6 separate regions of the Homo sapiens genome follow, and all the other regions are linked to region 2. Evidence: promoter capture Hi-C in 16 types of primary human blood cells and fetal thymus (Javierre and others, 2016). All regions are on one chromosome and are shown on one strand. The core of a region is centred on a gene start or on the middle of the fragment in contact, and the rest is flanking DNA. Distances in the headings are between cores, read along the strand shown.

What was found. The method cuts DNA at HindIII sites, captures the fragments that hold promoters and counts their contacts. A CHiCAGO score of 5 or more calls a contact.
Region 1: a fragment that was not itself captured here is called in contact with the fragment with the promoter of CHD7 in region 2 in 10 of 17 cell types (naive CD8 T cells, activated CD4 T cells, naive CD4 T cells and 7 more); the score reaches 20.7 in naive CD8 T cells.
Region 3: a fragment that was not itself captured here is called in contact with the fragment with the promoter of CHD7 in region 2 in 14 of 17 cell types (naive CD8 T cells, activated CD4 T cells, naive CD4 T cells and 11 more); the score reaches 29.6 in naive CD8 T cells.
Region 4: a fragment that was not itself captured here is called in contact with the fragment with the promoter of CHD7 in region 2 in 1 of 17 cell types (naive CD8 T cells); the score reaches 5.3 in naive CD8 T cells.
Region 5: a fragment that was not itself captured here is called in contact with the fragment with the promoter of CHD7 in region 2 in 1 of 17 cell types (naive CD8 T cells); the score reaches 5.1 in naive CD8 T cells.
Region 6: a contact is called between a fragment that was not itself captured here and the fragment with the promoter of CHD7 in region 2, in 12 of 17 cell types (activated CD4 T cells, naive CD8 T cells, non-activated CD4 T cells and 9 more). The highest score is 18.6, in activated CD4 T cells.

What each region holds. Positions count from the first base shown.
Region 1 is chr8:60,829,389-60,834,349 of GRCh38, reverse strand. CHD7 (chromodomain helicase DNA binding protein 7) reads right to left here. Exons shown (of 38, transcript NM_017780.4): 15 at 3,773-4,028. Among named protein-coding and RNA genes, the nearest start is that of CHD7, 150 kb to the right of the region's middle. The HindIII fragment of the contact is 1,360 bases long and covers 1,922-3,281 here.
Region 2 is chr8:60,676,906-60,681,544 of GRCh38, reverse strand. CHD7 (chromodomain helicase DNA binding protein 7) reads right to left here and starts at 2,805. Exons shown (of 38, transcript NM_017780.4): 1 at 2,463-2,805. RefSeq lists silencers at 1,328-1,697, 2,358-2,457, 2,818-3,257. The HindIII fragment of the contact is 9,178 bases long and covers 1-4,639 here.
Region 3 is chr8:60,920,443-60,925,101 of GRCh38, reverse strand. No RefSeq gene overlaps it. Among named protein-coding and RNA genes, the nearest start is that of CHD7, 240 kb to the right of the region's middle. RefSeq lists enhancers at 1,959-2,472, 2,473-2,986. The HindIII fragment of the contact is 3,388 bases long and covers 474-3,861 here.
Region 4 is chr8:60,538,336-60,543,381 of GRCh38, reverse strand. The region is part of intron 1 of RAB2A (RAB2A, member RAS oncogene family); the gene reads right to left. Among named protein-coding and RNA genes, the nearest start is that of RAB2A, 24 kb to the right of the region's middle. The HindIII fragment of the contact is 1,240 bases long and covers 1,246-2,485 here.
Region 5 is chr8:60,502,534-60,506,849 of GRCh38, reverse strand. All of the region lies in intron 1 of LOC124901949 (a long non-coding RNA gene), which reads right to left. Among named protein-coding and RNA genes, the nearest start is that of RAB2A, 12 kb to the left of the region's middle. The HindIII fragment of the contact is 456 bases long and covers 1,147-1,602 here.
Region 6 is chr8:60,884,132-60,889,073 of GRCh38, reverse strand. No RefSeq gene overlaps it. Among named protein-coding and RNA genes, the nearest start is that of CHD7, 210 kb to the right of the region's middle. The HindIII fragment of the contact is 2,457 bases long and covers 2,425-4,881 here.

The sequences.
Region 1 (4,961 bases), core at 1,352-3,851, 150 kb before region 2:
CTTATGACATTTGGTTAATTATTTTTTGTCCATACTAAGTTAAAATCCACAATATAAAATATAGTATTTTAGCCATTTAAAACAAATTAATGGCCAACGAATATTTTTCAAAAAGCAAATAATCATTTCGACAAAATAAACATCAGATATTTGGGTTTCAGTTAAATTTTTTTAACAAATAATTCAGTCAAATTTGCAGAGAATTTTAATTTTAAATTTATTCAGAGATTAAAAAAATAATTTTTGCCTTTTTTATACTATCAAAAAGAATAGTCAGAAAAAAAATGCATTCTTTCTTACCTGACAAAAGCTACTTCTGAATTAATTAATTCAGCTCTCTGTTATGAATTCAGGTTCTTACAACTGGCAGCCAGTTTGTACTAATAATATTTCATTTAAAAACAGTATCAGCAAACACCTTTCCTATATGATTGTCTTGACATTTTATTGTGGCAACATTGAAGGAAAGAGGGTGGGAAGAGTGTTGGGGAGGAAAGCAACTGCTCCCTTGTGATATCACAGCTAAATTTTCAAGATTACAAATTAATGTTTGATACCCAATTTGTAAACATCAATCCAAAAATTAACTGGAAATAGGTCATGCCAACCCAAAACACTTTGTTGGTTCCGTCCTAAATTAATGTATGGCTGGCACTACACTGGAAAGTGTGTATATCAAAGACAACTTGAAACAAGTGTGCATTCACTTACAGCTTGAAGTCTTTTCACTTCAACAGATGGTCACTGTCGGGACAGTAACTGCAATGTCCTCTAGCTATATAAAAGCCACGAACAAACAAGAAAATATTTTGTTCTTGACGATTACCAGAAAAAAAAAGTTACTATTTTCTCTCTGAAATTCACTCCATCACGTAAGCCTCATTCGTGTTTTCTTTTTGCCCACTCTTCCTCTACACGCCTCCTGCCTCAAACAATAACCAGCAACAACTCTTAAGTCAGCTCTAACCAGCAGGGTACCTTGGACATGTTTTCAACATTATTCTTAACTTCACATTGCAAAACCTAAAAATTGGAAATTCCATTGAAATAAAGCTTGAGCTAATAACTCATACATAAGCTTTCAACTCATACATATAAAATTGCTTCTATTTTTCATAATCCTGGAAATGTGTTTTGTTGAATGTTGATTGAGGCTTCTTTACTCTGCCACAACCAATTCAAATTTCAATGTAATCTCCCAAATTAAAGAATTTCCTTTTAAATGCTGGATATATGTTTTTACTCCAGACTGTGGATGAGAATGAACAGTACGGGCCCTGGAGCAACCTCTACACAATACAATGTCTGCGTAAGTTATCTGGGCAGCTGCGTGCGCTTAGTTTGTATGTTATCTACACTTTTTCACTATAACTTCCCCAAATTTAGGGACAAAGACACCTGCTTAACAGACACTTCTTGTCAGGACAGAAAAGCTGACCTCAAGGTGTGACCAATTAGGACAACTGCCACATCTGCCAAGCCTTAGGGAGTCCTAAGAGGCTCCTCGCGAACAAATATGCTATACAGGATGACCCTGGAAAGCAATCATCAAAGGAAGAGACACACCAGCTGTGTTTTGGGGGAAAACAACCCACAATGTTCAATGCATATAATTAACATATGACCAAACAGGGTAAACTTGATGGAACTGGGGGTGTCAATCTAACTACCATTGCTGAGATCTCCCCTTTCACACACATCCTGCTGGTAGCATTCAAACCCTTTTGTATCTCCTTTTCTTTTCTTTCCCCTTGGAGGCTATTATTTATTTTCTTTTGTACCAGCTATTAAATGCAAACACATGTATGTGCACAGTGCATGCACACACGTGTCCTCATCTCGCTCCATCAGTTGCCCTAAGCTCTGTCTCGCCAACTCAAGACCTGGCTAGTTAACACTCACCGTAACGGCTGCACAAGCTTCTAAACATACTGTGATTAGCAGATTGGCAGTATCAGATACATAATCATCACACATGATACTCTCTTTAGAAGACAAAACTAAAAGCACAAAAAGAAATTCACTGGCCAGGTGCAGTGGCTCACACCTGTAATCCCAGCACTTTGGGAGGCTGAGGTAGGCAGATCACTTGAGCTCAGGAGTTCGATACCAGCCTGGGCAACATGGAGAAACCCCGTCTCTACAAAAAATACAAAAAAAATTAGCTGGGCGTTGTGGCGCATGCCTGTAGTCCCAGCTACTCAGGAGGCTGAGGTGGGAGGGATGCTTGAGCCTGGGAGGTCGAGGCTGCAGTGAGCCGAGATCGTGCCACCGCACTACAGCCTGGGCGCCAGAGTGAGAACCTATCTCAAGAAAAAAAAACTGTGTATATATATATAAAAAAGAAATTCACTGATTCGTCGCATCACACCAATGATCCCAGGTGCAACACTCTAAGACTATCTTCCAGGAGTGGACTACTCTGTCCATTAGTAACGGAGACTTCTGAATCTAGGGTGGCCGATGAGTTACACGTTATTAAAAGGGGAAAGATTAGAAATTCTTTAAATTAGCTGTCCTTGAACATAAACTGTGATAAAGACAGACCAGGTTGTGCTCCCTTTTCCTTGGAAAGGAATCTAATTGCACTGCTGGCCAACTATCATCGTGTACAAGTCTCCCAAATTAGCCTGCCACCACCTTTCTTTAACCCACATTAACTTCTACCCAGAATACAATAGCCTCTGAGCTGGTTCTTCTGCTTGTCTGTCTTTCCTCCTCCCATCCTTTTTATGCAGTGTTGCCTGACGCATCACCCTGAATCATATTTCTAATCAATGCTCAGCTCAAACACTAGTCATGGTTCTTCACTGCCTGCAGAGTAGAGTGGAGGTTCCATGCACTAGCCTTTAAGGAATTCTGCAGCAGGATCCAAGCATGTCTAAGGTGCATTTCTTATGTGTGCCTTTTACTTTGGGAAAGTTCCTCATTGTTTTCCTGACCCCCTCTCTTTGCTTGTATCGTTACTTCAGCCTAAACATCTTTTCTTTTTCTAACTCTGCCTCGCAAAATCCTTTCTACCCCTGCAGACTTGCCTAAAAAGACCATCTCCTTCTAAAGACTCCCCCAATCTCAATCCCTCAGCTAACTGAAGACTGCTTGTGGCGAATGCTCCCTTCTTATTTACCTTTGCATTCTCCAGAGTATCTTATACAACATAAGCATGAAATATTTACTACCTTAATGATTTCCAAAAATACATAATAAAGGTTTTAAGCCATGAGTTACATAACACTATGAATTTAGTTAAGAAAAGAGGAGGGCCATAAATTATCAAAGCTTTAAGTTAATTTTTTTGTTCTCAGAGGATAGAGGTGCTAGATGACTCTGGACTGAGAGGAAGATGAGGACATTTGCTATCAAAGGCTTGAGACAGCTGATAGCTGTCTGCTCACACCTAAGTTCCTCTTTAACATCTCTGATTTAAATACACACACCCCAAGAAAACCTCCATTAGGGGCTCATTTCTCTTTGGCTGTTAGCACTTCAGATGACTTCTAGCCCTGGAACACTAACGCCTCTTTTCAAGCACAGGGAGGTCAGGAGAAAGGCAAGGTGAGATTCCACTTCAGGGATTGCTGGGGCAATGGTCACTCACCTTCAGCAACCACAGAAGGAGGCATCACAGAAAGTGGGAAGCTGGTGAAACCCATGCTGAGTGGACAGGAGACAGGAATGACTATACACCATGAAATCCCCAGTCTGGGGGCAGAAAGGGATTTCTGGTGCTTCAATCGTCACTTAAGCAAGTTCGCGAGCAGGGCAGCCTTACCATTGATAAGGTACGGATGATTGCAGCACTTCCGCAATTCCATCATAGTGTTTAATAGGTTAGGTACGTTAGCTTGACCACCGCCTTTGGAAAGAAATGTGAAATTCTTCTCAAGGATGGCTCGGTAATATTTCTTCTGAATGTTTGTTAGCTCAACTTCAATAATAGTTTCTTCTTTGGGGGCCAAGTTCTTTTCTACATCCTCTTTGAGACGTCTCAACATCATTGGCTTTAGAATAGCTTGAAGTTTTTGCACCTAAAAAAGGACCTTAAGTAAATACTAGTGTCATGATTTGCTTGCAAGTTAAAACATATTTTAACATGAAACATCAGGATTATCTCATTCATTAAACATCCATTTTCATTTTTCAAAGCCCAGTGAGAGTATGAAGGAGCTCATCTCTCAGCTTTCATAAGAGCAGTGCATGAAGGTTGCATAATTTTATGTCAAATGAACTATTTCACCCATCCAGGAGCCCTGAACAGCCAGAAGGCTTGAAAAGTACCCAGCAGGAGAAATCCAACTGATTCATGTAGCTTTCCCTTCTGTTTGTCCTAAGCCATAGGGAAGATAGAGAAGAGGGACAAGACAATGTCATGGCAATGCTCTGTTTCTATTCTCTTCCTTTCTAGGGAGAGCTAAAGAATGAGAGGAAGTGAGCCAGGAGCAATCTAGTCCCTGCACTAAGGAGCCAGCAGAGACGTCTCTCCCTGGTTCTCTTTTCTATTGATTGGCAATAGAACTGAGTAATCCATACAGTTTTTATTTTAGAAAAGAAAAACAAAACAGACCTTACTCTGAACTGAGCTAACAGGTTTTAGACAGTAAGTCAGTGGAGGGGGCACGTAAAAACCAAGATTTCAAGTCTATCTCCGTTATTTATTTCAAATACAGCACACAAATTATAACTAATGCCCACATAACTCTTACAGCATATAAAATAGCCAAGCACTTTTCTTTTCTTTTCCTTTTTTTTGAGATGAAGTCTCACTGTGTCACCCAGGCTGGAGTGCAGTGGTGCAATCTTGGCTCACTGCAACCTCTGCCTCCCGGGTTCAAGTGATTCTCCTGCCTCAGCGTCCAGAGTAGCTGGGGCTACAGGCGTGTTCCACCACGCCCGGCTAATTTTTGTATTTTTTTTAGTAGAGATGGGTTTTCACCATATTGGCCAGGCTGGTCTCAAACTCC
Region 2 (4,639 bases), core at 1,556-4,055:
TTTTTCAGGGAAAATAAACTTTTCCTGAGCAAACTGGAAGACATAAAATGTCTCCTACTTATCACCTAGAAAGGCAAACCAAGTCCTACTCCATGCCCCAAGCATCTAGCTTTCAGCCTCTTTATTATCATTGTCAATGAATGGGCCTCAGTCAAATGAAAGCTGCCATTTTAGGGTAAAGACTGGAGGGCTTCTGTTGTGCAACAGCAAGACAAAAACACTGCGCGACAGATGTACTCTGGGGGCTGGGAGAAGGATTCAACTTCGTAAAATCACTGCTCAAGTTATTTCTGAAATAGGAATTACCTTGTACTTAGACATTACTGCAATCTAAATATAATTATAACTGGGATAAATCAGGTAGCCATGCTGCTAAGGTCACAGTCACTAAGATATTTTTTGTCATCGTCAGACAAGATCAGTGAAGAAATAAAGACACGTATTTTGTTTCCTCTTCGATTACTACGTATACTGAGTACTCCCTCCCTTACCGAGAGAGAACTGGGGTGAAATAACACTTAACCCCTTAGAAAGGTATCGCCCACTGCAAAGACGGCTTAAATTAAAATTTTTAGAAAATAAAAAATCAGGGCCTCACAAAATCCTTTAAAAATAAATTAAGACATGTAATGTATTCCAGAAATTAAGCCCCCAAAAGGGACACTTTTTAAGATAAGTTATTTAAATCGATTGCTAGATAATATACAATGGGAAACTAAAAAGTATACTTAGCAAGTGGAGCGCTGGATAGTGTATCTAATTCTAGCAATTCAAAAGGAAACTCTCTCCATGTGGGTTGCTACTTTTCTTTTGTCCATTGTCTGTTCAGAAGAGGGGGAAAAAAACTAGTTTAAACCAAGGCGTGAGCAGTCTCTAAAAGTGACCTCCAGGAAAAGAGTCCGACCCATAGCAGGAGCACTCTCCGCGCCGCTCGCTTCACGGGGGCGCTCACAAAGCGGGCGGCCGGCCGGGAGTTTGGGGTGCGCTCCCACGGCTCCGGGCTCCTCGAGGCAGAGCCATCCGGAGAAAGGCGGCTCGGTAATGATGGCTGCTCGGGGCCGGCGGCTCCTTCCCCAGAGCCTCCCGACCAGCGCCCCCACCCCCGCCCGGGAGCCGCCGCCGCCGCCGCCCCCGCCCCCCCCCCCCGCGACCTCGACAGCCCCGCGCCGCCGCGCCCGCCCCGCACCGCAGCCCAGCCGGTGCCCGCGCCCCCGCCCGAGCCCCGCGCCCCCAGCGAGCCCAATCCCCGGTGCGAACCAAACAAACAACGCGTCCCCCACCGCCCTCCTTTCCTCTCCCCGCTGACCGCTTGGCCTCCAGCCACCTCGGCCGTTCACGCTCCAAGCCGCGGCTCTCTGCGAGGGCAGAGCGCACCCGGGTCACCTCGGGGGCCACCTGGTGACCACCCCCCACCGGCGCTGACCCCCGGCGGGTTGGGGGGCGGGGGAGCCGAGTTGCGTTGGAAGGTTAAAGTCGCTATTATGCAGCTGCCGCCGCCGGCGGCCCGGCCAGCTCGACAAGGTGGGGTCCCCTCCTCGCCGCGCCTCCCGGCGCTCGCCCCGGCCCCGCTCCCTTTCTTCTCCTCCTAGCGCACTTGGGAGCCGCCGGGGAGCCCCAGGAGCCCCCAACTCCGGGCTCGCAACTCCGCGCCCGCGACCGGCACTGGCTGAGCTCGGGACGCCTCCCGCGCCGCGTGTTCGCGCTGCCCCCGCCCCACGCGGCGCCCCGCGCACTTTCCCCGCCGCCGACCCACCTCGCTCGGTGGCGGTCCCCGCGCGGGCTGGCGCCGCCGCGCCGGGAGGAACGCACTTTGTTCGCGCCGGTGCGGCCGCAGCTCCCGGCGAGCGCGGCGTGGTCGGTCCGGAGCGGGGGGCGGGGGCGGGAGGCGGGGGTCGCCGCCGTCCCCGAGCCGCCGCCGCCGCTGCTCAGCCGCCCCGCGCCCGCGCGCCCATCGCCCGCTCGCACTTGAGTTGGAGCCCAACTTTTCCTCCTTCCTTTTTCTCTCGAATGGAGCCGGCAACTCGTGCTCGGCGCCGGCGGGAGGAAACGCGCTCGCGCTCCCCCGCGCGCAGACACGCTCCCTCCTGTCCCCCGTACCCCCCCCCCACGCCGGCAGCACAACAAAAAGCCATTTACATGCGAGGAAGTGACCCTCGGCCGCACCGCGCGCCCCCGCCGCCGCCGGCCCGGCGGACGCAGGCAAAAGTTGGGGCGCCGGGCGGCGCTCGGGGCGCGGGTTCGGGCCCCGCGGGCGGCGACGCCGGCGACACTACGCGGGCGGCGCTGCGCTCCTGCGCTGGCCCCGGCCCCCTCCCGCCCTCGCCCCTCGCCCCTCGCCCCGCACACGCCCAACTCCTCGCTCCCAACTCCTAGCGCGGCCCCGGCCCCGGCCCGGAGCGATTTCCTGCCGCCGCCGCCGCCGCCGCCCCTCCCGGGGGCGCCGGGCGAACTCTCGCGCTCACCGGGTCGGTCGGGCTCCTCCGCTGCCTAGTGCCGAGGGGAAAACAAAACGCAGAGCGGGCTCCGGAGTTGGCTCGGCAGCTGCGGCCAGGGGGCTGAATCCACGGGCACGGAGTTGGCCGGGGGCGAACGGGTCTCTGGTGAGTTTCAGGGTGTCCGGGTCCCCGGGCCGCCTCCTCCGCGGCGCTCCTTTGTGTAATTTCACTCGATTCAAGTTTAATCCGATAGTTCCCGAGCACGAGCGCGTCCGCACCACCACGACTCAACCCCCGCGCCGCCGCCGCCGCCGCCGCTGCCGCCGCCGCCGCCGCCGCCGCCGCGGCCCCAGCACGCCAGCGCCTGCGCGCGTCCGGCACGCCGCGCGCACCCGAAGCCGCGGGGCCGCGCGCGCCCGCCGCCAGCTCCCTCCGGGCCGCGCCGCGCCCGCGCCCGCGCCCGCGCGCCGCCACCTGACGTCAGGCGCGCCTGGCATAATTTATGCAAGAATTCGGCCGGGGTGGCGGAGGCCGAGGGAGAGGCCGAGAGAAAAGGGGCGGCGCGGAGCTGCTGGGCCGCGGGCCGCGGGCCGCAAGGGCGGGCCGGGCGCCACTTCCCGTCCCCTGGCGGGCGCCGGCGCTTCAGGCGGGTCTCCCCGCCGGCCGGTGCGCTGCTGCCGCGGAGTCTTCCTTGCCCGGCTGCACGGAGCGCTCGGCCGCTGCGCCCGGGCGCGGACTGGAGGGGCTGCTGCCACGTCTCCCGCGCGGCACCTTCCCGGAGCCGGGTGCGCCGCCCCGGGGCAGGAAGCGGGGCTCCGGGAGGGCTGCGACCCTCCTGGCTGCCGCGAAGGGTTTCCGACGCTGCGCGGCCGGCGGCGGCCGGGGGTGACTGGCAGTCTCTGCAGTAATTATCCTTCAACTTGAAATTATTTTCCCACATGAAATTATTCGGAAGGGACATGTTCCATTCCAGATGGGTTCGTGCCTGCTTCTCCACATCGCTTTTCCCACCTCTTCGTGGATAGGACACCGGATCCACTACTTAATCAAAAAGTTTAACTAGATGGCATTGATTTTGTCGAATTTGTTACCATACCAAAAAAGAGAGAGAAGGCAGAGAGCTCAATGATTATGAAACAAAGAAATAGGATGTATGCCCATTATTAAACGTGTCGGGACTAGAATGTTTTACTCATTCTTTGGCCAAAATGGCACTTGTATCTGATTGCATAGTCTTAAAAATCCGAGCCTCTTATTCCATTTCTCTTCCCGGTACAAAATGAATGTTAAACCTGAAGAAAAAAAACTTTTTTTTACTAATTTTTATTTTAGGAAATAGATCTACAAACATGGATTAAGCCTCTTCTATCTGCAAAATACGGAGCAATTATAATGTGTTTAAACCATCAATTGTAAACTTTAAGATAATTTTATTAGGTTAAAGATTGCACTTATTTTAAAATCAGGAAAGGAACTCATATCAACCAAAGATTGCCCTATGGCAGGTACAGACTGACTGGTTATTACTGGACTCCAAAATAAACTGAGAAAATAGCAAAACTATGTAAAATGTACTAATCTCACTCACTGATGGTTACACTACCTGTAGTGCTAAGCCTGTAATCACAATATTGTTATTTGGACAAAAGATTAATCAAAACTATCTCATTAAGTAACTACTGCAACTATTCAATAAGTTTGATTATCCTAGACTTAATCACTAAGACATTGATTTTCTGATTTTAGTAATAATTCTATAAATATATCACATTATATTGTGGTTTGTTAAATGCACTGCTTTTAGCTTGCTTTCATCATGTATTTGAGTTTTGTTCTAAAAGAAATAAATGTTTTAATGTTTAAGGAGCTTACAGATCATCAAAAAGAACATAGAAGACAGTACAGAAAGAATTCTGGCATTTAAAAAGTTGAAACCACTAAAATCAACTTCCATCTGTTTTAAACCCGGTATCACAAACCAAGAATCACAACTCTGAGGTTAGGCTACTGTTTCCATTAAGTTTATATTTCCCAATGAAAGTATATGAAAGGTGCTTTAGGGGTGTGTGGGGCGGGGGGGTCAAAAACAGGACACAATGTCTAGAAAAAAAATCGCTAGTACCTGACTATATTAGAACACATTTTTAAAATAATGTGCCATAAAAAATTATGTCTTATCTTTTACAGTGTGCCACAGCTCGATA
Region 3 (4,659 bases), core at 918-3,417, 240 kb before region 2:
AGAGTCTAGGTCGGGCACAGTGGCTCATGCCTGTAATCCCAGCACTTTGAGAGGCCAAGGCAGGCGGATTGCCTGAGCTCAGGAGTTCAAGACCAGCCTGGGCAACAGGGCAAAACCCTGTCTCTACAAAAAAAAAAAAAAATACAACAATTAACAGGCCTATGTGGTGCGTGCCTGTAGTCCCAGTGACTTAGGGGCTGAGGTGGGAGGATCGCTTGCGTCTGGGAGGTTGAGGCTGCAGTGAGCCGAATTCGCACCACTGCACTCCAGCCTAGGTGACACAGTAAGTGACACCCCATCTCTAAAAGTTTAAAAAATAAAAAAAAATGTCTAAACTTTGTAACAGCCCAAGAGACCTCTGAGGGTTGAGGTGGGGATAGGACTGGGAGGGGCTGGGATGAGAAAGCTGTGGAAGGAGCAGATGGTATCCTAAACCAGGATGGGGAGGGGAGGGGAGGGAAAGAAGGGAAGCTTGTTTCGGAGCGGCCCAAAGGAGAGGCAAGGAGATAGGTAGAGGCTGCACACTTAGGACTAGCCAGGTGGAGTCTAAGAGAGCACTTGGCACCTCTCTGGAACAGAAGCAACACAGATAGCCAGACTGAGCTAGGGCCCGACAATCAAGGGAGGTTACGACAGATGTCAGTGATGGCCATTCCCAGAAGCTATGCCTAGAATGTCCCCTTTTCCAATCAGGAATTATGCGGAGGGTCAAGTAGCCCAGAGAAGCTCCCCTTGGGGTGTGAGTCCTGGACCTAACTGATGCAAATAATCCTATGGGCTTGCACTGTTGTGGGTACCACCCCATCCCTAGGCACTCAGAACTCCACCCTGGAGGGGAGACGCCTTGTTAGGAAAATACCTCAGGGGAAACGATGGTTGTGGGAGTACATGATGACAGATTGGGGACAATGAGCAGAAAATGAAAGATGGGGACCAGGTGGTGCCCTGACCAGGCCAGGCCAGCTTGCCAGCAGACCCAGTGGTGATGTTTGGGCATGTGACAATCTGCTGGAAAGGAACTCCCGAAGGGTGGTCTCAGAACCAAGATATGGGCATGGATTTCCCAGAGAGAGGTACCAGATTCTGCCCCAATGTGAAATGACCACAAGGAAGCCTGCAGTCCTCTCGGCTTAAGTAACCACCGAATCAAAAATCATCTATATAGGTGAAATGATAGGATGGCTGGGAATTGCTTTATAATTCTCCAGCAAACCAAACAAAATGTGGGAGGGGATAGAATGAACAGAGTGGGGAGGTGTTGTACATATTGAAGGTGGGAGAGGGTACGCGGAGATTTATTGGACCAGTGGATAGCAGTGTCCTTTCCAAACCAGAAGCAGCACCACCTGAGGGCTCTAACAAGTTGCAAATTCTCAGGAGGGAGCTGACCCCAGATCTGCTTAAAAATACACAACAAAAAACTCTAGGGCTAGGGCCCAGCAATCTGTGTTTTAACAAGCCCTCCAGAGGATTTCGCTCCGCGGTTCGGATGCTTGATCAAATTTGAGACCCACTGCACAATACCTTTCTCTCTCCTTTTGTGCATGTGCTCTGATTTCCATAATAAAGGGTTTTAAAAAACCGTCCCTATGGGCATTTTTGTTGTCGAGTTGTTTATTTCTTACATCACTTGTCTTCAATTGCTATTTAACTATTGTTTTGATCTTTTCCTGGAGCCAGAACAGAAAAGCCAGAAAGCAGAAGCCACTGAGACTCTCTCTCTCCCGCCGCGCCCCGCCCCCCCCCCCCCCCACCGCCCAGTTTGCAAATATAAACTTCCTGTAAGAGACGCCCCCGGCCGGCGCACACACCGCTCACACCTGAAGGCTGTGTCTGCAGAGGGGCCCGGGAACGACTCCCAGGGCGACGTGCAGGCCGCATTTCGGAGCTGCCCCACTTTCCCCGGCCTTCACCGGGTGCCCTCAGCGTACGCCCAGGTCCTGGCCCCAGGCGCTCCCGCCTCCCGCAGTCCCAGAGTCCGGGCCCAGGTGGCACTGCCACGCGTCGATCCTGTGTGGGCACCCGGGCCTCGCGAGAGACGACCCCTCTAGAACTGACTTTTCAGAACTGCAGCTCACGAGATATGGGTCCCCTCATCTTTTCCGTTCTCCCTTTCAGAAGTTCTTTAAAAAGACGGGGAAGGAGGTGAGGAGAGCTGGAGGTCGAGTCACAGGGCGGGGCCCTCCACGCACTGTCGCCTCCTCCCCGCTGTTTCGGGTCCTGGATGAGGGTGCGGAGCTCGGGAGACCTGGGCGGTCGCAGGAGGTGAAGGGTTAAGAAGCGGGAGGCCTCCTCCCGCTCCGCGTATCCAATGCCCCTTCCTCCTCCTCTCCCTGTTCCTCCCGCCACCCCCCTTGTGTGCTGTAAAACAATCCCTTTGTTTCCTCTTTAAGACATTAGCCTCAGGGGCCATTATAGGAAAGAAAGGTAGCCAGGCCCTTTTATCTGCGAGAATCCATTAAGCATGGCCTCTGTACAGCAGGCCGGTCGGTTATGGGCTGCTCCACGAGGGGTCCCAAAGTGGGAGAACCCCTCCCAAGCGAGGACCCAGACGCACCTGTATCCCATCTCACTACCTCCCCCTCGGGAACTGGAATTTAGGGGGAGTGGAACGCTGGCAGTTTTCAAACGAGAGTGAATATAGAGCCACGGTGGGTCTCCCGCAGAACCCCAGTTTCACACCTTCCTGCCCTCGCGCCATCTCTTCCTGCACACCCGGGAAATGGGATAAACTTTCGACGGCAAGATGGGAAATGACCCTACTCTTCGTTTCCTCAGCGGGTCTTGGTGCGGGGCCGCCACCGTGCGCGGGAGAGGGGACGCAAGCAGCTGCTGGTCCGGTCGACCAGACGCGCACGTGTGTATCCGCCAGACAGCTGTGGGTCTGTCCGAGGGTACGCGAGGACGCCTCTGTCCCGCAGCCCCGCACGCATTTGATTGTGGTGCTGGGCGACAGCTGCGAATTTTGCCACTGGGGGACCGAAAGAGGGCCTTTTACCTTTCTTAGGAAGCTGTGATGCAAAATGCCTGCTGAAAGCACTGGAGGTTTCATGTGTCTCATCAGAAAATAATCTAACACCGATTCATTATTTATATCTTCCCCCAAGAACCAGTCGCCCCAAATGCGCACTCTGCCCGTGCGCTCCGTCTCACCTAGCCGCCCAGTCACAACAACAAACACCGCCCGCAGGCCCAAGGCACAGGCTCAGTGACCGCGGCTCCGAATTCTGGATTTGGGGACCTGGCGCAGGGGGAGGGGAGAAGGCGTGGCAGCCTGGCCAGGGCCCGGGGAAGGGCCAGTGTGATACTTTTATCAAGTTTAGTGGGCGGAATCTTTTCTTTTTTAAATTGCCAATAATTCGGATTGTTGGAAGTAACGGTGGCAGGAAAGCCACAAAAGAAAACTCTTTCTTTAAATTCTCTGTTGTATCCAGGTCAAAGATACAATATCAAGTCAGTGTCTCTTGCTTGAAATCTCTGTGGAATGACCTTCTTTGGATCTTCTCCTGCTCTTTCACCATGAATATAAATATTTTCTCCACTTACCATATGTTACCCACGCACTTCCACAGACCCCACCGCCACCGCCCTGCTGGGCTCCTTGCAAAAGGAAAGTCTGCCCTGCTCTCTCCTCTCAGCCGGGAGGGCAGGGGGAGGAGGGAGCAGTGTTGTTCAAGGGACAATGTCACTTTCCTCTTCATCAAGATTCTTTGTCAATTGCTGGGGAAATAATTGACCTCAAGCTACTTCAGTCACAACTAATAGAAAAATGGAACGGTGATGTGTCCAGCTGTTAAGGGGAGGCAGGCTGGAAAACAAAGGTGGCAAGGAAGGGGGCTGACATGAAAAATATGTAAAGCTTCATGTGCAAATTCTTGGGAAACAGTGGAATTTCACTTTAAAATAAAACAAAAAACCAGAATTGTGTTCATTTGTCATATCTCCAAGGTTGCGGTTCTTGATTTGTGCCTTTGGATAGCTTAAAAGGAGAATCCCAGCACAGAAGCCCTTTCATACAGCTGCCGTCTTTTCGGTTCTCTGACCCTTTCCTTAACTTACACAATGGCACTTTTCCCCAACACCCTTCACTCAGTTAGCAGCCAGAATGATTCAGCTCCATCTGATTCAGGGGCCCAGGGAATAATTTGGTAGTTCTTTGAGTATTGTTTGGCATTTATTGTTTTTGGTTTAGTTTAGTTTTTGTTTTGTTTTGTTTTTTTTGTTTGTTTGTTTTTTGTTTGTTTTGTAACTAGTAGGAGAAAGCAGCCTGAAAGAGAAAAGGAAAAGTAGGAGGAGTGAGAGGGATAACCAGAGAGAAGGCCAAGAAGAAATTCAGCAATTGCCTTTCCTGGCTTCCCTTAAAGAGATGATGGTTAGGAGTGGTTTGTTAAAACAAATCTCATATTTCAGCCCACAAGATGTCCCATTTATGAAGCTGATCCTGTTCTAAGTTAGACCAATCAGGCAAAAATCAATAAGGACATTCAATGCCACCAATGTGGTAAGAAGCAAGAACAATATCAAACAGCAACTCAGCGAGGCCTCAAACATGAGCTCTTAGCCTGAACTGTGTCTTCTCCAAAGAGGAGAAAAGAGGACTTGGGGTAGTGGAGGGGAGGGGGCAGTGGCAATCCAGATGCTACAAAAACAGCCCGATAT
Region 4 (5,046 bases), core at 616-3,115, 140 kb after region 2:
GAATGAAGACAGGGATAGAGAGTACAGTTCTGCTGCCAGAAGCCAATGAACGCTTGGAGCCACCACAAGCTGGAAGAGGTAAGGCAGGATTCTCCCTGGAGCCTTCTGAGAGAACACACCTAATATCAGGCTTCTGGCCTCCAGAAATGTGACAGAACAACTTTCTGTGATTTTAAGCCACCAAGCTCGTAAGCTGTCACAGTGGCCCTAAAAACCTAATACACTAATCAAGAGTCATCTTTCATTCCTCTTAAGACTCTTACGTTGTTAGTTTCCCAGTCTTGTTGATTCTGTCTATAATAATTCCTAGTGCAATCAGTAAGTTACTCAAACACAAGAAATATTGAGTGGTGTGGGAAAAGAAAATTGGGAATACAGAGCATTTATTTGAGAAGGCTGCCCAGTGAAAGCTAGGAGGGAAGAGAAGAGATAGTTATTCAAAGAATATTAATTGAATGCATGCCTACTATATTCCAGGCATCAAGTTTGGTAATAAAAATAAAGTTCCCAAGAGGATGTGGCTTTCAGAATGTAAAAGATCTTTCTCCTGGAAACTGCAAAGTGCAGAAAAAAGTACGCTAACAAAGCTGAGAGTTGCTAAAGAATCAATTAAAAAAAGAAATGGACAATATGAAGAACTAACCCTCTACCCTCTTTCCCTTGATGCAATCATCTACTACTATTTCTGTTTCTTTCTTTTACAATATTAAAGTACCCCCAATATTAAAACACTTCTGGGATGAGACCAAAATCACAAAAATGAGTAAATGAGATATAAACTCAGCTGAAAGCCTATGTTCCTATATGTCAGTATCTCTTACACATTGGGCCTCTGCATACATTTATTAAGTGTTCTTTCTTTTTTTTTTGACGGATTCTCACTCTGTCGTCAGGCAGGAGTACAGTGGCGCGATCTCGACACTCACTGCAACCTCTGCCTCCCAGGTTCAAGCGATTCTCCTGCCTCAGCTCCCAAGTAGCTGGGACTACAGGCACATGCCACCACGCCTGGCTAATTTTTTGTATTTTTAGTAGAGATGGGGTTTCACCGTGTTAGCCACAATGGTCTCGATCTCCTGACCTCGTGATCTGCCTGACTTGGTCTCCCAAAGTGCTGGGATTACAGGCATGAGCCACTGCACCCAGCCTATTCAGTGTTCTTTCTCTAATAACCAGCGACTTCTTTTGTCTACTCAGCTACTCATCTTTAAGACTTAACTCAAGTGTCATATCCTCTAGGAAGCTTTCCATAAGACACACCTCTCTTTACAAAGGTAGAAGTATCTTCCTTTGTATTCTCCTGATTTTTATTAAAAATTTTTTCCTGATTTTTATTTTTGGTGAGGTAGGGGAGGGTGCTGCTCCAGGCCACATTTGATTTTTTCAAAGATGAACATTTTCTGCCTGTGAATGTATAAAATAATTTATTTAACTGTCTGGTTTCAGGGGAAAAACACAATAGCCTCTGTTGTCAATGCTAGAAGAGAAAGAACACTGACAAGTTTCTGTGATTATCTCGCTCAGCTTGGGTGTGACGTGGACTCCAGGAAACCAAATCTAGACCTGTGTTTCAACCACTAGATGAAGTAGGCCTCACTGAAGGCCTAGACCTTAAAAATAGACTTATGAAGAACTGTAATAATATGATATATTCAGCAACTACTTACTAAGCACCTTAACTGGTTACACAATGGTTAATGGAGTTGTGCTCGTCGCCCAGTCTGGAGTGCAATAGTGTGATCTTAGCTCACTGCAACCTCTGCCTCCTGGGTTCAAGCACTTCTCCTGCCTCAGCCTGCTGAGTAGCTGGGATTACAGGTGCCTGCCACCACGCCTGGCTAATTTTTGTATTTTTAGTAGAGATGGGGTTTCATCATGTTGGCCAGGCTGATCTGGAACTCCTGACTTCAGGTGATCTGACTGCCTCCCAAAGTGCTGGGATTATTCTTTATCCTGCACTCTTTATAAAATCTCTTTACCTTTAACTCCCTTAAAGTTCTAATTTTTTCCCTTAGTTTTTACCTCATGTCCTTTTGTTGTCTCAGGATCACATCTAAGAAACCATATTACATTTAATTGTCAGGCCTTCTTTAAGGTTCCTCTTGGTTGTAACAGTTTCTCATGCTTTCCTTTTTTGATGTTCTTGACAGTTTTGAGTACTGATTAGGTATTTTGTAACATGCCCTGTGTTGAAATTTGTCTAATTTTTTCATGATTAGACTGGGATTATAAGTGTTTGGAAGGAAGATGACAGAGAAAGAATACCATTTTCATCACATCATATCAAGGGTACATACTATCAATGTGACTGATCACTGTTGACTTTAACCTTCATAACCTGGCTAAGGTAGTCTGTCAGGCTTCTCCAATGGAAAGGAACTTTCCCCCTCTTTTCCATACTGTATTCTTGGGAAGGAAATTACTATGCACAGCCCACACTAGAAGAGTTGACTTCTGCCCCAGAGTTTTCACATAAGGAAAAGCTTTTTACCCATTGTGTCTTATATAATGTCATCTCTCATCACCATATCCAATCTTCTGCCCTTCCATATTGTTTTAACATTACCATGTGTAGGCATTACTCTTATATAAAAAAAATGGGCTGGGCACGGTGGCTCACACTTGTAATCCCAGCACTTTGGAAGGCCAAGGTGGGCAGATCACTTGAGGTCAGAAGTTCCAGGCCAGCCTGGCCAACATGGGGAAAGCCCAACTCTACTAAAAATGTAACAAAATTAGCCAGGCGTGGTGGCACATGCCTGTAATCCCAGCTACTTGAGAGGCTGAGGCACGGGAATCGCTTAAACCTGTGAGGCAGAAGTTGCAGTGAGCCAAGATTGCGCCATTGCACTTCAGCCTGAGCGACGGAGAGAGACTGTCTCAAAAAGAAGAAAGGGAGGGAGGGAGGCAGGCAGGCAGTATTTGAAGTATACACTTTTCAGAAATGGAAAAGTGTCTGAAAATGATCTTCATTTTTAACACTTTTCACTCCCTATGATATCCTTCACTAAACCCTGATAATTCCAGCTCTCATCTGTAACCTCCTTTTATTTTCATTACCACTGCCTTAGACAAGGCCTCTAGGAACCTCTTCTCTGGAACATTTTAATTACCATCTAACTATATACCCGTACCCTTCTAATCTATTCTACGTATGACTGCACCAGGAATGGATGAGAAAAAGACAAAAAGAGAATGGATGAGACAGAAGAAAAGGATTACATTTAACATCTAGTATGTCTACGCTACTATATTAAAATATGAATATATACTGTATTTGGTTTTAAAGTTAATTATAATTCTAGTTGTATACTCTTTCTTTCAAAAACTTCAATGCATTCCACTGTCTACAAAATAGAGTTCAAACTCTACCTTAACCTGTCACATGTACCTCCCTAGGTCCACCATGTTTAATGGATTTATCTTTCCAGCCTTATTTCTCATAACAGCCTGACACAGGGTCCATACTAAAGTTAAACTGGACCGTTCATATCAAGGACAGTACAAGGTGTGGAACTTAGCAGACAACTACCTTCCTGTTTACTCCTATTTTTATATTTTGATTTTTTACCATTTCTACTTGTCAGAACCAGTTCAAATGTTATTGTACCCTATGATTTTCCAAGAAGGAGGAAAAACGCATTCCCCCTCTTACAAAATGCCATACTTTCTTCCAGTTCCTCAGTCAGAGCCCTTATTATATTCTACAAGCACAGCTAGACTATAAACCTCATAAGGGCAAGGATGCATCAAATCTACTTTTTAAATCCTTCACAATTGCATTTAGTCCTACGTTTTATATTTGGTGAACTTATGCCTTCTTCATTTCAAAGTACACGACCAGTTTAAGAGATAACAAATATTTACTGGGCTAGATTTGAATCCTGTGTATGATGCTGATTGAAAAAGTTGCTTCAGGTTTCTAGGCCTTGTTTGCTTATTTGTGTAATGGTAATTATACCACCTTATTCATTGGCTATTGTGAGAAATAAAAGAGATAATATGTAATAAAAGAGATAATGCATCTAGGAAAAATCACTTCTTTTTCCTTTCCCAGTACCTGAAGACAAGCTCACTTTATCTGCTAAGGCCAAATTACTCTATACGTACATACTTGATTAAGCACTTATCACATGGTACTTTTATTATCAGTTTATATATCTAGCTTTACTCCTCAGGAGCAGTAACATTTGCCTTTCTGTATTTTGAAAACGACCTTGCACAGTGGACTGGCTTAAAAGCAGATGCTCAGGGAATGAATTAATGCATCTCATGCTCACTGGAAAGATCACAAAGTAATAGACTATTCTATCAAACAACTCTAGCCTACATCTCAAGAAAAAAAAACTATCAATTTCTAAAACAAAATTTTATTCAACAGTGGATTTTTCAGATGGGGAAATGACGCTAGAGAATGAAAATATGACTGCATTAAATTAGAATTGTATCTGTATCATTATCTGCCCCAAACTTAAGTGTTATTTTCCTTTCAAAAGGTAGTGAGTACTCTCATGTGCCAGTTTTCAATTGACTGCCTTCTTGCTCCAAATCCACCCTTCACTGTCCTTCAAGTGAGACTGAAACCTTTCTACCTTGGTAGGGCACAGGGCATGACAGCTTCATCAGCACTCAGCACCCCTCTATGGCCATCTGCCCCCAGCACTCCTTCAGGTTGCTTTTCATGGAGTTCTCAGGCCACACACACACCATAGAAGCTGAGCACAAAGAGGGCAGCTGTCCAGCCCATTTCAGCCCCTTAGTTAATGTCTCTGACATCCAGTAGGCCTCAGCCATGCCCCTCCAATGAGGTTTGAATGTCAGATCTGTCCTTCCTTCCATGCTCTGCATAGCCTTAGAGGTAGTGACTACTACCCTATCTGCTGTTACCACAGTCTTCAGAGTTCTTTCTACCTCTTAGCCAATTCTCCCATTACTCTAATTCTACGTTACAGTTAAGGACTGTTTACATTAGACTTTCTCTGTTCAAATTCCTGTGTAGTTTATGTTTCCTAATTGAACTCCCAATGATACAACTAGCATGAATAA
Region 5 (4,316 bases), core at 125-2,624, 170 kb after region 2:
ACAAAAACCTCTTTAGAACTAGATCCTTCTTCCTCTCCTTGAATTAACTGCATGCATTTCTGAAAGGTTCTTCTTTCACTTTACCTCAAAAGACACTGAATCCAAACACCAGTGGTGAGATTGTCTGATCTGAACTCTGAGATAAGCTATTTTGCTTTAAAAAAACAAAAAACAGACAGGTTATTGAATTACTAATTGAAATACAAAAACTAAATTACTTACCTTTCCTTTCTTGGAAACAAGCAGAGATGAGGAAGTATACGTGTAACATGGTTTGTTATAAGTGACCCAGTAGATAGGAAATTGAAAGTGGACTCAGTTTACAGGGATCCTTCAAGTAGTGTTAATTCACTCAAGAAAATTTTAAAGTTATTTAAGTAAATAACAATTTAATGATTTATTTAATGTAATCATATGAAAAAGAACATTTGAGACCTGTCATTCAGATGCCAGGCCCTTTGCCAAGTGCTATAGATAAAGAGAGAGGTAGACTTACCATGAACCTAATGAAGCTTAATTTCAGGGCCCCTAATTTGCAGAAACATCTTTTAATGCAAATGTGTTCACATGATCAGTTTTCTATTTTTGCAAATAAAAAGTTGCTAAAGTAAGATATTTAAACCTTAATCAGTGAATTCTATTGTCTCTCTTTAGTCTTCACTTCCATCTGTGACACTTGCCCTTGTGTTGAGAGGTGTTAGAGAATATTCACAGATCTTTTTTTTTGGTACTGGTTAAGGAAGAGTATTGTTGAAGATACACTTAGTTTTGTAAGATATATTAATTTGATCACTTGCACGTGTAGTTGAATTATTGCAAAGAATTGTCCAGTATAGAAATGGCTTCCAGAGACACTGCAATCTCTACTGTGCTGATTCACACTGCATCATATGATATAGAGGTTGTATCTTAATTTAGCATGGTCCTACTGGATTTGCTTTTTATTACTAAATTACTAAATAACCTTAGAGACTAAAGACAATACAGCATTGTGAGATAATTAGGGGGTATTGTCTTTAGCCTCTAGGGTTGTGGTAAATCTGGGCATCGTCTCACTGGATTCTCGACTCAGGATCTCATAAGGCTAAACTCAAGGTGTTGGCTTGGTTGCATCCTCATCTGGCATTCAGAGTTCCTTTCCAAGCTTACATAGTGTGGCCAGATTCATCTCCTTGTAGTCATTATTTCCTTGTTGGCTCTTACCTGGGAGCTGCTCTCAGCAACTAGAGGCCACTTGAACGACTTACCACGTGACCTACTCTATTTCCAGAGCTGGCAATAGAGAATCTCTCTCATTTTTAATCCTTCATGCTTTGAATCTCTTTGTCAGGAAGGGTGCTGTTCCCTTTAAGGACTCAACTGATAAGATCTGGCCCATCCAGGATCATCTTTCTATCTTAAGGCCAACTGATTTGGAACATTATTCACATCTACAAAATCCCTTCACAGCAGCACCTAAATTAGTGTTTCAACAACTGGAAAAGCATATGTGTATGCCAGGGTGCAAAAATCTTGGGAGTCATCTTATATTTCTACCTACCACACCTGCTGTGCCCAGCATGGAAAGTATATGGGTTAATGAGTTTTACCTATTATAAAGCTTTTCAACTCAGAATGTATATTTTCAAAGACCTGGAAGGAACATTCAAACATAAAGGAAATGAAAACATTTTCCAAAAGCTCACACAGCTAGAATACACCATTTTAGTGGCAATGTTTCTATTAAAACTAGTAAGAATTTATAGACTCCTCATTTATTTATGAAAAACCTGGATATGCTTATTTATTAGAACAAAGAGTTCATAAGAAGTTAACAGCATGTGCAATGAAAGCAATAAAGATGAATAATAAAATGAATAAAAGCTAGGTACAGTGGTGTATCTTGCCTGTAATCCCAGCACTTAGGGAAGCTGAGATGGGAGGATTGCTTGAGCCCAGGAATTTGAAATCAGCATGGGCAACAAAGTGAGACCTTGTCTCTACAATAATAATAATAAAAAAGTTAGCAGGCCACTATGGCATGTGCTTGTAGTCCCAGCAACTTGGGGAGCTGTGGTGAGAGGATTGCTTGAGCCCAGGAGAATGAGACTGGCTGCAGTGAGCCATGTTCCTGCCACTTCACTTTAGCCTGGGTGACAGAGCAAGACCTTGTCTAAAAAAAAAAGACTCAGTGGCTTTCTTGAACTCAGAAGAAAGGGGCCCCTGCCCTGAACCCTGCGTTTTAGAGTACCTTGCCCATCACAAATGTAAAAGCACAAACATACTTGTTTTTGTTTCTGACCTCATGGTTGCAGGAAGCTGGCTGAGAACAGGAGAGAATGGCTTGGGGGAAAAAAAAGCTCTTTCAAGTTGGCCACCCCAAATCACCCAGATGGGTGTCCAGGCAAATCAGGGCCTCTAGACACTTGCTCTTCTTTTCCTCTTCTACTTGGCTGGTATTGTTTTGAGAGGTGAATTTCTAGGAGGGCAAGATTTTTGTGTGTGTGTGAAACAAGAGAAAGGTTATCTGCTTAACCTAGCTCCCTGAGGAACTTAATCAAGTCACTCCCATTCTGGCATTTGGGTGGGTCCAGGCAGCACCCAAGAGTCCAGGACCTCACCAGGTCCAGCTCAATGACAGACTTTGTATGGAAGAACTGGGAAGGAGAAAAAAGTAAGCATGATTCCTGTTTATTTTGCCTGATGAACAAAGTAATGCAATTAATTGAGGTAGGAGACCAGGTATGTGGGAAAAAGGAGAGTGAATCAAAGATTCTGTTTTGGACATGTTGAATTGAGATGCCAGTAGACTTCTAAGTGATCTCACATGAGCGATTGGACATTTGAATCTGGAGCTTGGGGGAGTGGCCTGAGCTTGAGATAGAAATACTACATAGCTGGCATAATTGTGGGGGCCAAATGTTTTTTTCAACTATGTGCTAGACATTTGTAGTTCCTCTATTGTAGATAACATGCTTGTGTCCTTTACCTATGTATCTATTGAATCTCTCACAGTTATTCTTAAAATTTCCTAAAAGTTTAATGCAATAAAAAATGTTTAACAAACTACCTTAAATCATCTAATTTTTACAGCAAGCCTGGTACAGCTTTTTAAATTTTTGACTAATGAGAGTTGTGACCTCCACAGACAAATTTAAAAATCATCAGCATATAACAAATAAGAAAAACATATTTGTCGTCCACAAGGAAATGATGTATGCTTTATGTTCACAAAGCAAGGCTATATTGTGTCTCCCAAGGGGGCTCACAGGCTGGTATGTATAGTAAATCAGGCTTAGAAACCTGATTTCTCTGTATATCAAGAGTGAATTCATCTTTCAGGAATGGACTTACATTAACCTAGTTTATGAGTCTGATTTTTAAAAGCAGAAGGTCAAATTGCAATGAGAAATCATTGTCCCAGAGACAGGGATATTTTAAATTTGTGCAACTAGCTTTTTGTTATCCTGGACAAAGAATAATGTCTATGGAATATTTAATGACCTTAAGCTAAGAGAACATGAGTCACCCATCTCACTTTTGGGATGAGAAAAACATTAATCCCAATACCTTTAATCAGCTCATTCGCTCACTTACTTCATCAGCCCTAACCACACCCTGTTATCTCCCTCTGAACAGCGCCATTTATCTCTTTGGCCTCTGCAGCATTTATAATCCTGGCCTAATGGCTTTGCCCAAGTATCAAATATTTTGATGAATGAAAAACTCCCATGAATCATGTTTAAAACAAGTTTTTTTTTGTGGTTGAAGTTCTTGAGATCTAAACCATGAATCATGTTTTAATAGAGAATACTGCTTTTTATCTCTGAGACCTTCCTTTTTTGAGGGTTTAAGGCTGACTAACCCCACTTGTGATAACAGTCATTTTAGATACTTTAACAAATTCAATCAAATTACCATCCAGTTCTGGCCCTGGGATCCAATCTGGATCTTCAGGTCACTCCCATAATTTTATTTGGCAGTATATTAAGCCTCCAGCTTCATTAGTTACTGACCATATGACCTGGCCATGCCATTGATTCCATCTGTATTTCAGTTTCTTAATCTGTAAAATGGGAAAAAGAATATCAAAGTGATAGGATTACTGTGCAGTGCCGAGGTTGTGGGAAGCACATGGATCATTCCATGTGGCAGGGAAATCCCCTTCAAGGGGCAGCTCACCAATTGCTGGGTAAGTTCCTGAACCCATCATTGGCAGGAGGCACGGTATTCTGTGTGAACTGGCCATTCTCAGGCTGAGCACTTCCATGCAAGTGTATGCTGGGCATTTTGAGTTGTTAGAGTGATGGCAAGTGGAGGTCAGGGATGCTAAACAT
Region 6 (4,942 bases), core at 2,404-4,903, 210 kb before region 2:
GCCAAAGACTTGAAAGACAGAGGGGCTATACCATACATAAATCAGCCAGAGCCAGTTTCTGTTGCTTCTGACTAAGGATGTTCATTGATAAAGGAACTGGAAACAGAAGTAGTTATAAGCAACAGAGCTCAGGGTGATGCAGAGGATAAAAGCACTCTGGAGAAGGAATGGCAGTGGATTATCATAAGGCTAATAAAATGGTTGTTCTAATTGCCACCACTGTTCCAGATGTGGTCTCTCTCTACTGAAATAAACCAACTCAGCCCCTGGTATTTTCCATGCAAGTACTGATCTCAAAAATGCTTTTTTCCCATCCTAATAAATACAAAACATCAGAAGATTGTTTCTGGCAGGCTGGGCACCAGAACCTTTTCATCCTCTTGCTTTAGGGCTCTGTGCTAAAGGAAAATTGATCATTTTGCTTTCCCAAAAGACATCACATTGGTCTACCACATTGATAACATCAGTATGATAGGACTCAGAGAGCAGAAAATAGCAGGTGCCATGGATTTCTTGGTAAGATAGCATAAGCCAGAGGTATCCCATGAAAATAAAATGAAGGACACATCAGTAAACTTTCTGGGAGATCCATGGGGGTACTGAAGGCATATCTTCTCAAAAGTAAAGAACTAATTGTTTCATCTTGCAGCCCCTAATAAAGAAGTACGACACTTTGTGAACCTCTTTGGAGTTTGGAGGCAACATATGCCACATTTCGCTGTGCTTTCTCCCCCAAGTACCAGGTAATTGAAAGGTTACTAGCTTTAAGAAGGGCCCCACCAGTCTCCAACTGGACAAGTCTGTGGCAGAAAGAGCTCTTCCATTTGAGCCTTAAGATTGGATCCAAGGGTGTTCAAAGTGCAAGTAGCAAGTGAGGCAACTATATGAAGCCTCTGCCAGGGTTTCAGAAGTAAAGCCCCAACCTCTTGGCAAGAATTATTTTTCTATTGAGAAAAGATTGCTACTGGACCCTGATGGATGTTGCATATTTAATCATAGAATACCAGGTGAACCTGAGCTCTGCCTTATGAAGTAGGTTTTATCTCATCCTCCCAGCCAGAAATTCAGGCATTCCCCAAAGCACCATCACTCAGGCTGTGCAGATCCTGAAGGCATAAGAAAATTGTATGGGCAGATGGCTCGCACACCCAGGTACATTGCCTTCTATGTTATGACCCTTCCCTCAACCTACACCTGAGCCTCGTGGGGAATCCTCCTGATCAGATGACTGAAAATGGAAAAAAAAAAATCTGTGTGTATATGACTTTGCACAATGTGTAGGTGTTTGCTGGGAGAGACTGCTGAAGAGTGACACTGACTCTTGAAAAATAGTAAAGAAAGGCAATCATCCCAGCATAAATAATTGGTTCTTCTCATTCTTTATTTTACCAAGAAGGAGATAGGAGCTTAAGTCAGGCTGTGTGGACAGTGATTAATTGTTTGGCCACCTAGTAAAAAATTAGTAAAGAGCAAGATTAAGAGTTGGTGACCAGATCAGGGAAAGAATATAGACTGACCTCTGAGAACAGGCACCAAGAATGCCATGATAACGCTCACCAAAATTCTTCCCAGTGAAGGAGGCGCTCTTTAATAAGGTGGACATGACCGTCCTCTCGGGATATCAGTCAGCCACTATCCTCAGAAACCCAGTGCCACCGAATAGGTACATGAAGTGAGAGGCCGTGGAGGGAGGAAGCTATGCATGGGCTCAGAGACAAGCACGGGCCCTCACCTGGCTGCATATCCTCCTCACCTGGCTGCGTATCCCACTTGCCTACTTCAGTGATGAACCCTGAGTGTCAATGTGGCACCATATTCAGGAGCAGCAGCTTGCCTTCTGGTAGCCTGTTGATTACACTGAATCTTTTCCATAACTGTAGAGGTAGCAATTTGTTTTCACTGGAATGAACACTTATTATGAACCTGGATTGCATTGGCATTCCTTCCTAACAAGCTTCTTCCTTCATGACACACATGGCCTTCATGAATGCCTTATCAATCATGATGGTATCTCATACCCACATAGAATTCCTTCTCACTAAAGCATTTTTTTTTTTTTTTTTTTTTTTTTTTTGGAGATGGAGTCTCACTCTGTCACCCAGGCTGGAGTGCAGTGGCGCGATCTTGGCTCACTGCAACCTCTGCCTCCTGGGTTCAAGTGATTCTCCTGCCTCAGCCTCCCAAGTAACTGGGACTACAGGTGCGTGCCACCATGCCTGTCTAATTGTTTGTATTTTTAGTAGAGATGGGGTTTCACCATGTTAGTCAGGCTGGTCTTGAACTCCTGACCTCAGGTGATTAGCCCGCCTCTGCCTCCCAAAGTGCTGGGATTACAGGCGTGAGCCACCGCGCCTGGCCTAAAGTATTTATTTTTGAGTGAAGGAAGACAGGCAATGGGCTGAAGTCTATGGGAGTCTCCAAGCTTGCCTTGTAGCCCACATCTCAGAAGCAGCTGCCCTTGTAGAACAGCAGCATAACCAAATGAAGACTCAGTTCTAGAAACAGCAAATGTAGGGGGAAATCCTTGCTCTTAAACTAAATGATATTGCCAGTGAATCATCATTTTTGACCTGAAAAAATGGTGAGTTCACGCCACTCGATGTAATGGTTTGGGACATACAGAGAGTGGGAATCAGCGATCCACATGCAGTGGATCCTTCCTGTGAATAGGGATGGTTGGAGGAATAGTAAAGCCTCACAACCACTTGCAGCTATTTTGTTTTCTGACCCCAGAGCTCTGGGCTTTGTTAGAGGTCTTAATAAATAAGGGAAGAATGCTTCCAGCAGGCGAGGCAGCAATGGTTCCATTGTAAATTTGAAGCTGAGACTCACACCTGGGCATTTCAAAGTCCTCTTGCCACTGGATTGAAAAAAGGAAGTGTAGGCCGAGGCAGGTGGATCACCTGAGGCCAGGAGTTGGAGACCAGCCTAGCCAACATGGTGAAAACTCATCTCTACTAAAAATACAAAAATTAGACAGGCATGGTGGTGTGTACCTGTAGACCCAGGTACTCGGGAGGCTGAAGCAGGAGAATAGCTTGATCCCAGGAGGCAGATGCTGCAGTGAGCCGAGATAACGCCGCTGCCCTCCAGGCTGGGTGACAGAGTGAGACTCTGTCTCAAAAAAAAAAAAAAAAGGAAAGAAAGAAAGAAAAAGAAAAAAGAAAGTGTGTGGTGTGTGGGGGATGGTATGGGTTTTGACTGAAGTAATCCGTCTGCTAAGAAAGAGGAAATGGAGTTCTGCTCTGCAGTGGACAATAGGAGCATAGATGGGGTGCCTCAGAGAACCGCAAGGTTCTTGCAACCTGGAGTTGGTGAGCTTGCTAGGTTTCCTCTTCCTGCATAAATGAACCAACTCTCTTTCTGTGTAAGTGAACCAGAGTTGGTTGCCATAACTTGTATCTAAGAACTCTGCCACACTGGGCTATGCCGAGTCCATAGCTGTAAAATGGAGGTAAGAAAATTGCCCATGGATAGGCTAATGGTTAAGGACACGGATTTATGTATCAGAGAGTTCTTGATTTGAATCCTTTCTCTGCCACTGGCTAGTGGCATCATAGGGAAGTTATTTGACATTTTGAAGCCCGTTTTCTCATCTATAAAATAGGAATGACAATAACATCCATATCATAGGCTTTTGCAGGGATTAAATGAGATAATCCATGTAAAATGCATATAGCAAGGATTAATAGTGTTAGCTATTATAATCTATGTTTTTTTTGAATTGATATGAGTCTTAAGAGAAAAGTACCCAATATAGTGTTACTTATTATCTAGGCTGTATCTGCCCCTTTCATTTCCTTCCACACCATCCTTGTTCTTGATGATTAACTACATTTCAACCTTGTGACAGTGGGGGGAAGGGCATTTTGTGTGCTGGTGGAAGAACTGGGGTGAGAGAAAGCATACCCAAGTGTTAGTACCTGCTTCTCACCAGCTGGGTGGACTGAAAAGAGTTGGTTCTTCCTCATAACTTGAATGGGTTGGATTCCTCCAGCTTTTTTCCAGCTCCAGCATGTGAATGCATAAGGGGAAGGCTGCGCTTCTGCTGGACCATCACATCTCTGCAGTATGTCCTGTGATGGGGAAGTTGATAGGTGACAGATAAAATAAAAAATTATTCAGATCCCAATTTTCCGAAGCACCAGACCCAATGACGTTTTCTTTTTTTTTTTTAATAGATCATGTATTTTTTTTTCTTATACTTTAAGTTTTAGGGTACATGTGCACAATGTGCAGGTTAGTTACATATGTATACATGTGCCATGCTGGTGTGCTGCACCCATTAACTCGTCATTTAGCATTAGGTATATCTCCTAATGCTATCCCTCCCCCCTCCCCCCACCCCACATCAGTCCCCAGAGTGTGAGGTTCCCCTTCCTGTGTCCATGTGATCTCATTGTTCAATTCCCACCTATGAGTGAGAACATGCGGTGTTTGGTTTTTTGTCCTTGCGATAGTTTACTGAGAATGATGATTTCCAATTTCATCCATGTCCCTACAAAGGACATGAACTCATCATTTTTTATGGCTGCATAGTATTCCATGGTGTATATGTGCCACATTTTCTTAATCCAGTCTATCATTGTTGGACATTTGGGTTGGTTCCAAGTCTTTGCTATTGTGAATAGTGCTGCAATAAACATACGTGTGCATGTGTCTTTATAGCAGCATGACTTATAGTCCTTTGGGTATATACCCAGTAATGGGATGGCTGACCAGACCCAATGACATTTTCCCCCAGATATTTCAGTCAAAAGGATCAGACCTTTCTGAGTTAAGACCTTAATGAGTTAAGACATAACAAATACTTAGAACAACTTTAGGGTAACTATATAAGTATAAACCATGATACTACACACTTCCTAGATGGGTAAAGCTTAAAAAAATGTTCCCGGCCGGGCATGGTGGCTCAAGCCTGTAATCCCAGCACTTTGGGAGG